Linked DNA regions of Homo sapiens: region 1 is linked to region 2. Evidence: promoter capture Hi-C in human tissues and cell types (Jung and others, 2019). All regions are on one chromosome and are shown on one strand. Each heading gives the region's core, a stretch centred on a gene start or on the middle of the fragment in contact. The rest is flanking DNA. Distances are from core to core; before and after follow the strand shown.

What was found. Contacts are between HindIII fragments. The study calls those that stand out against the background at their distance.
Region 1: a fragment that was not itself captured here is called in contact with the fragment with the promoter of SEC61A1 in region 2 in 1 of the 25 tissues and cell types used here (dorsolateral prefrontal cortex).

What each region holds. Positions count from the first base shown.
Region 1 is chr3:128,672,450-128,678,600 of GRCh38, reverse strand. It overlaps the pseudogene POU5F1P6. Among named protein-coding and RNA genes, the nearest start is that of RPN1, 25 kb to the right of the region's middle. RefSeq lists an enhancer at 3,196-3,265. The HindIII fragment of the contact is 6,212 bases long and covers 1-5,112 here.
Region 2 is chr3:128,048,846-128,054,763 of GRCh38, reverse strand. SEC61A1 (SEC61 translocon subunit alpha 1) reads right to left here and starts at 2,327. Exons shown (of 12, transcript NM_013336.4): 1 at 2,205-2,327; 2 at 1,862-1,929. The coding sequence starts at 2,211. It overlaps LOC102723759 (a long non-coding RNA gene), which reads left to right and starts at 2,589. Exons shown (of 4, transcript XR_007096073.1): 1 at 2,589-2,802. RefSeq lists a silencer at 2,014-2,653 and a cis regulatory region at 2,146-2,762. The HindIII fragment of the contact is 6,890 bases long and covers 1-5,206 here.

The DNA of each region.
Region 1 (6,151 bases), core at 757-3,256, 620 kb before region 2:
AAACAAAACAAAAATTAACTGGGCATGGTGTTGCAGGCCTGTAATCCCAGCTAATTTGGAGGCTGAGGCAGGAAAATTGCTTGAACCCGGGAGGTGGAGGTTGCAGTGAGCCGAGATCCTGCCACTGTACTCCAACGTGGGTGGCAGAGCGAGACTCCGTCTCAAAAAAAAAAAAAAGAAACAAAGCTTTTGTCCCCATCTCCACCAGAAGTGAAGAAAAGAATGGCTTCCAGCTTGAGGAATGGGGAATGGGGATGATGGTACTACACTACTACTACTACTATTAAATACTACTGCTACTGCTACAACACTACACATTCATATCTATTCTTAGAAGGTATTAATCCCAGAAATTCAGGTTGAGGTTGGGAAAAGTAGGTTCCTTATCCTTGGGAATCTGTTTACTTACCTATAAAACCAGAGTGTAGTAAATAGGAATCCCTGTCCTGGCTGCCTAGCCAGGTTGTTAGGAGGAAAGAGAGATTTGGTGTCCTATACTAGCATTCAGAATGACTTGTGATGGGACACTGTTTGCAAGGCTGGGGAAAGCAGGCTGTGATACCTACAAGTGGGAGTGTACATTTTTACAACTCCATGAGGAGGCAAGCTGGCATATCTGTTAATGTAACATTAATCCTTTGTACCAATCCTTTGATTAAGCACTTCAGGGCCAAGGAAACTATCTTACATATGTATTCCCCCATGTGCACAGACAAACGTAGAAAGAGGTACAGTTGAGGGCTGTTTGAATGGCAAAAGCATGGAAGCAAACTAATTGTTCATAAATAGGGGACTGGCTTGATTTTTGAAAAATGACACATCAAGCCTGAGCAACATGGTGAAACGCTGTCTCTACAAAAAATACAAAAATGAGCTGGGCGTGGTGGCAGGCACCTGTAGTCCCAGCTACTCAGGAGGCTGAGGCAGGAGGATCACTTGAGCTGCAGAGGCAGAGGTTGCAGTGAGTGGAGATCGCACTACTGCACTCCAACCTGGGTGACAGAGTGACACCACATCTCAAAAAAAAAAAAAAGACACATTTGTTTAACAGGAATTCTATGCAGCCCCTCCTACAAAATAAAGTAGTACTGTTGTAGAATAAGCTCCAAGATTTATCACATATAATTATAATTATGACTGTGGCTGCAAATAACAATGTAGCCTTCTATAGTGCAAATAACAATGCAAATTACATTGCAAATAACAATGTAGCCTTCTATAGTGGCTTAAACAGACAAGGGTTAATCTGTCTCAAGCAATAAGTAGCAATAAGGGCAGGCACATCTGAGTCTTGTATGGGGCATTGGTGTGTTGTCAGGAATGCAGACTCTTTTTCTTTTTAAAATTTCAAAAGCCTTAAGAAGGTCACAGTGGCACATGCCTGTAGTCCCAGCTACTCAGAAGGCTGAGGCAGGAGGATCGCTTGAGCCCAGGAGTTCCAGGCTGTAATGAGCCATGATCATGCCTGTGAATAGCCACTGCACTCCAGCCTGGGCAACATAGCAAGACCTCATTTCTAAAACAACTTTTTTTAAAATTTAAAAACTTTTTGCCTCATTTCACCAGATCCCTGGCTTGGGGAGCCTTCCTTCCCCATGGTGGGACACCTGGCTTTGGATTTCACCTTCTTGCCCCTTCCAGGTGGTGGAGGTAATGGGTCAGCGGGGCGGGAGCTGGACTTGGCTAAGCTTCCAAGGCAGGAATTGGGCCGGGTGTTGGGCCAGGCTCTGAGATGTGGGGGTTTCTCCCGTGCCCCCCACTGCATGAGTTCCGTGGGCAGATGGTATACTCTGGGTCTCCGGTTGCAGTGGGGCTAGTGCCCCAAGGTGGCTTGAAGACCTCTCAGCCTGAGGGCGAGGCAGGAGCCTGGGTGGAGAGCAACTGTGAGGGGCCTCCCTGGAGCCTTGCACTGCCCCAGCTGGTGCCATGAAGCTAGAGAAGGAGAAGCTGGAGCAAAACCTCAACGAGTCCCAGGACATCAAAGCTCTGTAATTTGCCAAGCTCCTGAAGCAGAAGAGGATCACCCTGGGATATATCCAGGCCCGTGTGGGGCTCACCCTGGGGGCTCTTTTTTTAAATGTTTATTTATTTGTTTATTTATTTTTGAGACAGGGTCTCACTCTGTTGCCCAGGCTGGAGTGCAGTGGCGTGACCTTCGCTCACCACAACCTCTTGTTGTGCCCAGGGGTGTTAGAGAGAACGCCACACTTTGAGACGATTTAAGAGTCCTTTATTAAGCCGGCGGCCAAAGAGACGGCTAACGCTCAAAATTCTCTTGGCCCCGAGGAAGGGGGTTGATTAACTTTTATACCTAGGTTTAGGAAGGGGAGGGGAACTCAAATGCAATAATTCTACAGAAGTAAAAACATGCAAGAATAAAAAAAAAATGGTTACAAAGAGATAAACAATTTAAAAGACAAATGGTTACAAGAAGAGCAACGGTACCAGGTGCAAGGCTTTAAACCTTTATTATAATTAGATATAGGGGGTATGCCGGACAGGAACTCAAGGCTTTATGTTGTTATCTCTTTGAGAAAAATCCTGGGAACTTCATACATTGTTGGTGCTAGTACCTTATCAGTTAATTGGGCTACTTTGAAATGCTGAGGATCTGCTTACACAGGTTAACTCCTTGCGGAAGGGGGTTGGGTAAGGAGCCCTTAGTATCTTGTAAATTAAGGGGTCAATTGGAGTTTGTCTGGCTTTCCCAGCTAGAGAGAGTCTTATTTACATGAGAAGCAAGGCTAGGTGATTAAAGAGACAAGCAGGATAAAATTCAAAGTAACGAGTTAGAGTAAAAACAAGGTTAGGCGTTTCACTCTGCCTCCTGGGTTCAAGCGATTCTCGTGCCTCAGCCTCCCAAGTAGCTGGGATTACATGCATGTGCCACTATGCCCAGCTAATTTTTGTATTTTTAGTAGAGACGGGGTTTCTCCATGTTACAGGCCAGGCTGGTCTTGAACTTCTGACTTCCCACCTTGGCCTCCCAAAGTGCTAGGATTACAGAAGTGAGTCACCATGCCCAGCCTCTGGGGGGTTCTATTTGGGAAGGTGTTCAGCCAAATGACCATCAGCTGCTTTGAGGCTCTGCAGCTCAGTTTCAAGAACATGTGTAAGCTGCCTCCCTTGCTGCAGAAGTGGGTGGAGGAAGCAGCCAACAATGAAGAGCTTCAGGAGATATGCAAAGCAGAGACCCTCAGGCAGGCCGAAAGAACAAGAACCCGGGCCAGTCGCGGTGGCTCACACCTGTAATCCCAGCACTTTGGGAGGCCGAGGCGGGAGGATCACGAAGTCAGGAGATCGAGACCATCCTGGCTGACAAAGTGAAACCCTGTCTCTACTAAAAATACAAAAAAAAATTAGCCGGGTGTGGTCACGGGCACCTGTAGTCCCAGCTACTCAGGAGGCTGAGGCGGGAGAATTGCCTGAACCCGGAAGGCGGAGCTTGCAGTGAGCAGAGATCGCGCCACTGCACTCCAGCCTGGGCGACAGAGCGAGACTCCATCTCAAAAAAAAAAAAAAAAAAAAAAAGAAGAAGAACCGAGTGAGAGGCAAGCTGGAGAACTTGTTCCTGCAGTGCCTGAAACCCACACTACAGCAGATTAGCCACATTGCCCAGCAGATCAGCCACATCAGCCAGTGCGCCCACAAACCCACACTGCAGCAGATCTCCAGGTTGGGCTGGAGAGGATGTGGCCCCAGTGTGGTTCTGTAACTGGCGCCAGAAGGGTAAGTGATGAAGCAATGACTATGCACTACGAGAGGATTTTCAGGCTGCTGGGTCTCCCTTATCAGGGGGCCAGTGTTCTTTCCTCCGGCCCCAGGGCCCCATTTTGATACCCCAGGCTATGGGAGCCCCCACTTCACTATGCTGCGAGGGGAAGCCTTTACCCCGTCTCTGTTGCCACTTGGCCCTGCCATGAATTGAAACTGAGGTGCCTGCCCTTCTAGGAATGGGGGACAGAGGAAGGGAAGAAGCTAGGGGAGGAGAACCTGGAGTTTGTGCCAGGGCTTTTGGGCTTAAGTTCCTCATTCACTAAGGAAGGAATTGGGCACACAAAGGGTGGGGGCAGGGGATTTTGGGACAACTGGTTGGAGGGAAGGTGAAGTTCAATGATGCTTTTGCTTTTAATCCCTACATCATGTATCACTTTGTTCTTAAAGAAACCTGGGACACAGTAAAAAATAAATAAAATAAGGCCGGGCGTGGTGGCTCACGCCTGTAATCCCAGCACTGTGGGAGGCCGAAATGGGCAGATCACGAGGTCAAAAGATTGAGATCATTCTGGCCAATATGGTGAAATCCCATCTCTACTAAAAATACAAAAATTAGCTGGGCGTGGTGCCACGTGCCTGTAGTCCCAGCTACTCAGGAGGCTGCGACAGGAGAATCACTTGAACCCAGGAAGCAGAGGTTGAGTGAGCCAAGATTGTGCCACTGCACTCCAGCGCGGTGGCTCATGCCTGTAATCCCAGCACTTTGGGAGGCCAAGGTGGGAAGATCACCTGAGGCCAGGAGTTCAAGACCAGCCTGGCCAACATGGTGAAACCCTATCTCTACAAAAAATACAAAATATTGGCCGAGTATAATGGTGCAAGCCTGTAGGCCCAGCTACTAAGGAGGCTGAGGCAGGAGAATTGCTTGAACCTGGGAGGCGGAGGTTGCGGTGAGCCGAGATCACGCCATTGCACTCCAGCCTGGGCAACAAGAGCTAGACTCTGTCTCAAAAAAAAAAAAAAAAAAAAAAAAAATGTGATGCCCTGTTAGAAGCCAGAGACCACTATGCTGCCTTAGGTGGGGTGAATAGGCCCACGTCAGAAATGGAGCAGGTCAAAACTCCTGTGCTGATCAGTAGTGGGATAGTGCCTATGAATCACCACTGCACTCCAGCCTGGGCAACATAGTGAGATTCTGTCTCAAAACAAAAGTTAGCTAGCTGGGCACAGTGGCTTATGCCTATAATCCCAGCATTTTGGGAGGCTGAGGCAGGAGGATCACTTGAGCCTAGGAGTTTGAGACCAACCTGGGCAACATGGTGAAACCCCATCTCTACAAAAAATACAAAAATTAGCTGGGCACAGTGGCTCACGCCTGTAATCCCAGCACTTTGGGAAGCCGAGGTGGGCGGATCACTTGAGGTCAGGAGTTCGAGACTAGCTTGGCAAACGTGGTGAAACCTCCTCTCTACTAAAAATACAAAAATTAGCTGGACGTGGTGGCATGTGTCTGTAATCCCAGCTACTCAGGAGGCTGAGGCAGGAGAATCGCTTGAACCTGGGAGGCGGAGGTTGCAGTGAGCTTAGATCACACCACTGCATCCAGCCTTGGCGACAGAGCAAGACTCTGTCTCAAAAACAAACAAACAAACAACAAAAACAACTATATATATATATATATAGATATATATGTAGCTGGGTGTGGTGGCATGCACCTGTAGTCCCAGCTACTGGGGAGGCTGAGGTGGGAGGATCTTGTGAGCCTGGAAGCTGGAGGTTGCAATGAGTGCCCCTGCACTCCAGCCTGGGTGACAGAGCGAGACCTTGTCTCAAAAAAAAAAAAAAAAAAAAAGTGGGCTAAAGACCTTAATAGACACCTTAGCAAAGAAGGTCTACAGACAGCAAATCAAGCAGAAGAAAGATCCTTCCTATCATCTATCATCAGGGGAATGCAAATTAAAACAATGAGATACCACTGGACACCTATTAGAATGGCCCAAGTGCTGACGAGGATGTGGAGCAACATTAACTCTCATTCATTGTTGATGGGAATGTAAAATGGCACAGCCACTTTGGAAGACAGTTTGGCAGTTTCATACTGAACTAAACATACCCTTACCATACAATTCATACAATTGTACTCCTTGGTATTCACCCAAAGGAGTTGAAAATTTGTGTCACACAAAAACCTGCACATGGATGTGTATTCATTTATTCATAATTGCCAAAACTTGGAAGCAACCAAGATGTCTTTCAGTAGGTGAATGGATAAGTTCCTGTGGAAAATCCAATGTAATGTTATTTAGTGCTAAAAACAAAAGACATAGAAGCATTTTTTTTTTTTTTAGACAGGGTCTTGCTCTGTCACCCAAGCTGGAGTGCAGTGGTGCCATGACATCTCACTGCAGCCTCAACCTCCTGGACACAAGCAGTC
Region 2 (5,918 bases), core at 1,078-3,577:
AATACCTGCTGCCTACACTACATTAATGGCTTTAGAGGGCTTAACAAACATTAATTATTGTACAGACGGAAGATTCTGAGGTTGAAATACCTTGTGAGAGACTGACAGTATTAAGTGACAAAACTGTGTTCTTTAAAAACACTTCTAGGCAGGCACTGAGTCAGCATTCCTGGCCCTCTGGCCAGAACTGGAGTCACAGTCCTCTAACTATACATGCAGGCAAAGTAGGACACAGTCATACGGCCACACAACAGTGGGTGAATCAGTGTTCAGATACTCCATCCAAAGCTGGGGGCATTCACAGGACTCTTCTTCTCTTGAGAATGGTCCTCTTCCCACCTACCATCCCACCACACTAAGAAATTAGAAAGTGGCCAAGAGAAGGCAACGCCATTTCAGAGTAACCTGTCTGAAATGAATCTTGATGGGAAACAAAGAGCAGACAATTTTTTCAAAACTCCCTTTCTAATCACCAAGTCCTCTCTCCTGGTTACAATCAAATTTAACATCAAAACCCCAAAAGCTCTTTATCCAAGTCCTGTCTCCTCTGCTTCTTAGTAGCCCCTAAATCCATTCTTGCTCAGTACCACAGTTCATCCTCTGATGTGAAAAGCCTCTAAACCAACTCTAGTCCTCTCCTTTTCTTCCAAAGTGACATTCTCATGTCTGGCCCTTGTTATTCATCTCCTAATGTTCCCCACCTACAATTATGTTCTATCAATAGCAACTACATCTAATAACCTCCCATCCAAACATGCTACACTCTTGTCACCAATGCCTTTGCAAACTATATACTCCTTTTATTTGGAATTCCTTTCCGTCCCTTCAAGGAGACTTCTATTTCTCCTTCAAAACCACCATAAGACATCATGTCTCCCAGAGTTAATCCCTTCCTGAGCCACTGCTATACCTTGCACGTATTTCCCTTGTTCCGTCTACCACACTGAGTTACAAGGCCAAGGTCACATAGCTATTAAGGTGCTATGTAAAGGGTGGGACCTAGGCTTGCCTGCCTCCAGAGCCATGCCCCTTCGCTACACTGGAATTGAGGGGGTAAAGCTTTACAAATTCGTCCATTAAAAGCAGCACATGGGCATTTATATGAAACTATTTTACGTAAAAAAATGAAAGTGGATTCCAAGCACCCAAGTGTCCATGTGAATGCTTTAACAACAGTTTGAAAAATAATGTGAGGACACAAACATTTTATTCCCCACTCTCTAACCTAGGAACCTAATGAAACTTTTTTTCGTTGACAGCTGTAGTTACACTGGCAACACTCACTCCACACAATTTCTGATTCAGCACAGCTCTAAATTTAATCTTTCCTTGTTTTAATACACCGTCTGTGAAAAGCAGCAGACTTCACAAAAGAATAGCCTTTATTCCCCCTATTGTGACAGCCTACATAAAAGGTACAAAATCATTTGTAAATACTAAAGTGACAGCCCTTCCCTTTAGCAGCTGGATACAAAGGGCATCTCCTGGGAAAAAAAACCAACCCGTGATCTGCTCCCGTTGGAGGTGAAAAAGGGAGGGTAACTCAATCTGCTATCCTAACTGAGGCCTTATTCATTCATGGCCCGGATCCATTTTTGGGACAGGGCAACCGGAGGCTTTGTTCTCGGAGCAACATCCACCAAAGATGCTCCAAATAAAGCACAGTGATTTCAGTGGAAATTTCCACACAACCAGGTCACCTTTCGACAGCTCTCCGGAATAACAGAGCACAACTACACTCCAAGGGAAGAGAAGGGAGAGTTTCCATTGCCGTGCTGAAGCCATTTTTAATCATACTGTAAACTTCCAGAGTCCAGACAGTTTCCTGAAACCTTCTTTGTTGGCGATTTGGGGTACTTACCTTCCTCTCTGGCTTCTGAATTTCCGGCAGGATGACACAGAAGGGCTTGATGACTTCCAGAAATTTGACTTTGATGGGAGAAACAAAACAGGAAGAGTTGGGACACAGAGAAGTAACCTTCCGCGCTACCCAGGGACGCCTTCTGCCCACGACGAGTGAGAGCAGGGGCCAGGGGAGCCGGCCGCACCCCGGACGCGTGGGGATACTCGAGAAGGGCCGGGGGCACGGGCCGCGTTCTGCAGGGGGCCGGTCAGGGTTGGCCGGCGGGCGCCCGACCGCACGGGTGTGGGGAAGGGGGATCTGTTCCGTCCCGGCCTCAATAGGGCTTCCCTACAGGACTCACTTGCCATGGCGGCGGCTGCTCGGGCTCCGGGTCCCGCTTCAGCTCAGCTCTGCTCCGCGTGAGGCGACGCTGCCCGCGGCCCAGCGCGTTCCACTGCACAGCAGCTCCGCCGAGAGACACGTCAGTGCTAGCCCGGCGGCAAGCGGCGCGGCGCGGCGCGGGGCGGGGCCGGGGCCGGGCCTCGGATCGCTTCCGCTTCCTGCCACGCGCGCCCGCCGGCCGCCGCGCTTCGCCGCGCCGCGCCGCTTCGCCGAGACCTCAAGCCCCGGCATGCAGCGGGGCTCCTGGGGCCTGTCGGGAAGGGGCCTGGCGCGCGGGGCCCGCCGGGACTGGGGGTGTGCGGCTGCGCAGACTTGGTAACGCGAGAGCGCGCGGGGAGGGTGTGTCACGCCTCCCGAGACTGGGGCTGTGCGGCCTCACGGAGAAACTGAGGCAGGCGCGAAGCGTCGAGTGCGCGCGTGGCCCTGCAGGCAGGCGGAGACCCTGGTGGCTCCCATACACGTAACAGCACTCACTGCTCTTTGACGTTAGTGAATAGACCGTAAGCTCCCTGGAGCAGGGACCTTATCCCAGCGTCTACCGCGGCGCCCGTCACCTAGTAGGTCTCCGTCATTACCTGCTGAGTAGGGCGCGGGCTGGTGGGGCTTACCGAGCACCCTCGCTGTCTGAGTCATTAAGCAAACCCGGAGGCTTGTCGTGGGTGTGGGTCCCCTTCCATCTGAGAACGAATGGGATGAGTTTCTGGAGAGACTTGGCCGGAGAAGGGCCGGGGCAGCTCGGGAAGTAGTCTGCCTCACAGAAGAATTCAGGAAGGCCTCCTGGGAGAGTACCTTTGTGCCGAGCCTTGATAGATTCTGGCGAGAAGGAATGAGGGAACAGGTTGAGGAGACTGTTGTGGGCAAAGCATGGCGGTGTGATTGCCTAAGATCGGTGTGGGAAAGGGGGATAACGGGTAGGGCAAGGGATGCTGGGGCTGGGGGTTGGAATTTACTTTCAGGCATCTGTAGTCAGTAGGTATGATGTCATCTAAGAGAAACAGACTTAATGCTGTGAGCATTTAGCAGGGAGGAGGTGGGCACGCCTTGTGGGATCAGGCAAGGTTTCATGGAGCTAAACCTTGACCAGGACAGGTAGAAGTTGAGGGTACATATGTGGCAAGATGCTTTTTTGCTTTTAATTTAGGTGTCAACTATTTGGATTTTTCCATTCTCACCCATTTCTAGCAGATAATCAGGTTTTGTACATTCTTGGCTCAGAAAGTTGGACAGGACAGGAAGTCTTTTTTGGAATACAAACCCACTGGTGGAAAATTCAAAGGACTACTGGGAACAGGCAGGTAACTTCAGTGAAGTGGTCTAGGTGTGACATCACTTGATATCCATCCCCCACCAAAAAGGGGAAAAAGAAGACATTGACTCTTTATTCAGAGTCTGAAATGCAACCCATCTTCACTTCCAGGACCCACTGATGATCTCTTCTGGAGTTTTGGCCTGAAGCTAAAACTGGCAGCCCCTGGACTAAGTTCAGCATATAGACTAGATCCGATATTTAGCCATTATGCACCCTGCACCATATTGATGGTTAAAATGTTGAAATATTTCGAGGGTAAATAGTATAGTAATTACAATAAATATTACAATTAGTTAATAGAAATTTTAATATAAACTCATTGGTTTGTGCTAATAGTTGTAGGATGTCAGTACCATTGATAACAGGCCTCCTGTTGTTTCCACATTATGACACAATCTGGCCTGTGTCACTGCAGGGACTGCAGCCAAGTTACGTGTGTTAAATCACTGATTGCTTTAGGAGAATCACTAGTTTAAAATATTTTTATTGGACTGGGTGCAGTGGCTCACACCAGTAATCCCAGCACTTCGGGAGGCCAAGGCAAGAGGATCACTTGAGCCCAGGAGTGCAAGACCAGCCTGGGCAACATGGCAAAACCCTGTCTCTAGAAAAAAATACAGAAAAAAATTAGCTAGGCATGGTGGCGCATGCCTGTAGTCCCAGCTACTGGAAAGGCTGAGGTGGGAGGATCCCTTGAGCCTGGGAGGTCGAGGCTGCAGTGAGCTGAGATCTCACCACTGCACTTCAGCCTGGGTGACGACAGAGTGAGACTCTGTCTCAAAAAATAATAAAATATTTCTATTGTAAGCACATACATTAATTCTTCGGAAAATAGGTATGCAGTGTTTTATATTTATACATTTAAGATTTTATTATAGGATATTAGAAACATCCACCTAGAATGAAAGAGACCACAAAAATCTGGATGAATTTTCAATACTTTTAAGTATGATAAATGTAAATCTTGATATCTGCAGAAGAATAAACAAGAAATTTGTAATAATAATGAATCCCCGCCTGGAACTTCTTTTGATACTGTTTAAGAATCAGCACAAAATAAAATTTATAATTTATAAGATAAACTTTATTACATAAAATCTATAGTTTTGTAGTGAAAAAATAATTTTTTTCAACCAAAAATTTGACATTGCTAGTGACAGAAATGTTGGGTACTGAGTGCTCAGAAGTTCTATTGTTAAAAGATCAAAGTGTTAAACATATATTCATCAGAATGCTCTTAAAGCTTGTGCAAGTGAAGAAAAATTGTGATTATCGATGAGAAAAGAACTTAAAAGAATATAATCAGTTTCATAAATTAAGTATTTGAAAACTTAGAACTCCCAAAAAGGTTATCAGAGTGAGGATAAAGCAATCAAAAAGATTTAGGGCCAAGCTTGGTGGCTCATGAAATCCCAGCACTTTGGGAAGCCAAGGTGGGCAGATCACTTGAGGCCAGGAGTTCGAGACCAGCCTGGCCAACATGGTGAAATCTCGCCTCTACTAAAAATAAAAAATTAGCTGAGCATGGTGGTGCGTGCCTGTAGTCCCAACTACTCAGGAGGCTGAGACATGAGAATGGCTAGAACCCTGGGGGGTGGAGGTTGCAGTAAACCGAGATCTCATCACTGCACTCCAGCCTGGGCAACAGAGCGAGACTCTGTCTCAAAAAAAAAAAAAAAAAAAAAAAAAGATTTAGAAGGTACTGTCAGAATTTTTAGCACTATTATATAGTTAAGTATAATTGAGCATTTCACACACATTTACTAGAACTTCAAAAGGATTAATATTGATATGAACACGCCATTGTATTCTGGACCCACCTGTTAAAAACCAGATGTACCCAAATGAGAAAACAGCTTTTTGAAAAATATGTAAATCAAAGAGGTGTATTTAAAATCATCATCTAAGAAGCTTCATTTTTTTATGTGAATGTGTTTTAATAATTAAAATGCAAATTTAAAGGTTTTTGAATATAATGGTTTTTGTTGATCTTATGACACTGGGAAACATTTAGTACACTGTATTGTCTTTATTATGAGTACACAAGAAAGAATTACATTTGAGATATAGTTCCATAAAGATGTAATTGGAATATTGTACCAAATAAGAAAATTGTCATTGGATTTTATACAAAAAATGCTAATGTAATTCTAGAGAGAGTATGGAGTTTCAGCCAAAAGTTTAGGAAAAATGTGGATGTTTTAATTTGGCACTAAATTATCAAATTTAATTTTGGATAAACCAATACAAGTCAGGGAACTCATGCTTTTCTTGATAAACTATATTTACTACCACACACCAAGTAGCAGAAATAACTACATTAAGTAATGCAAATTGAACCTTGATGGACAAGCCTGCAGTGCT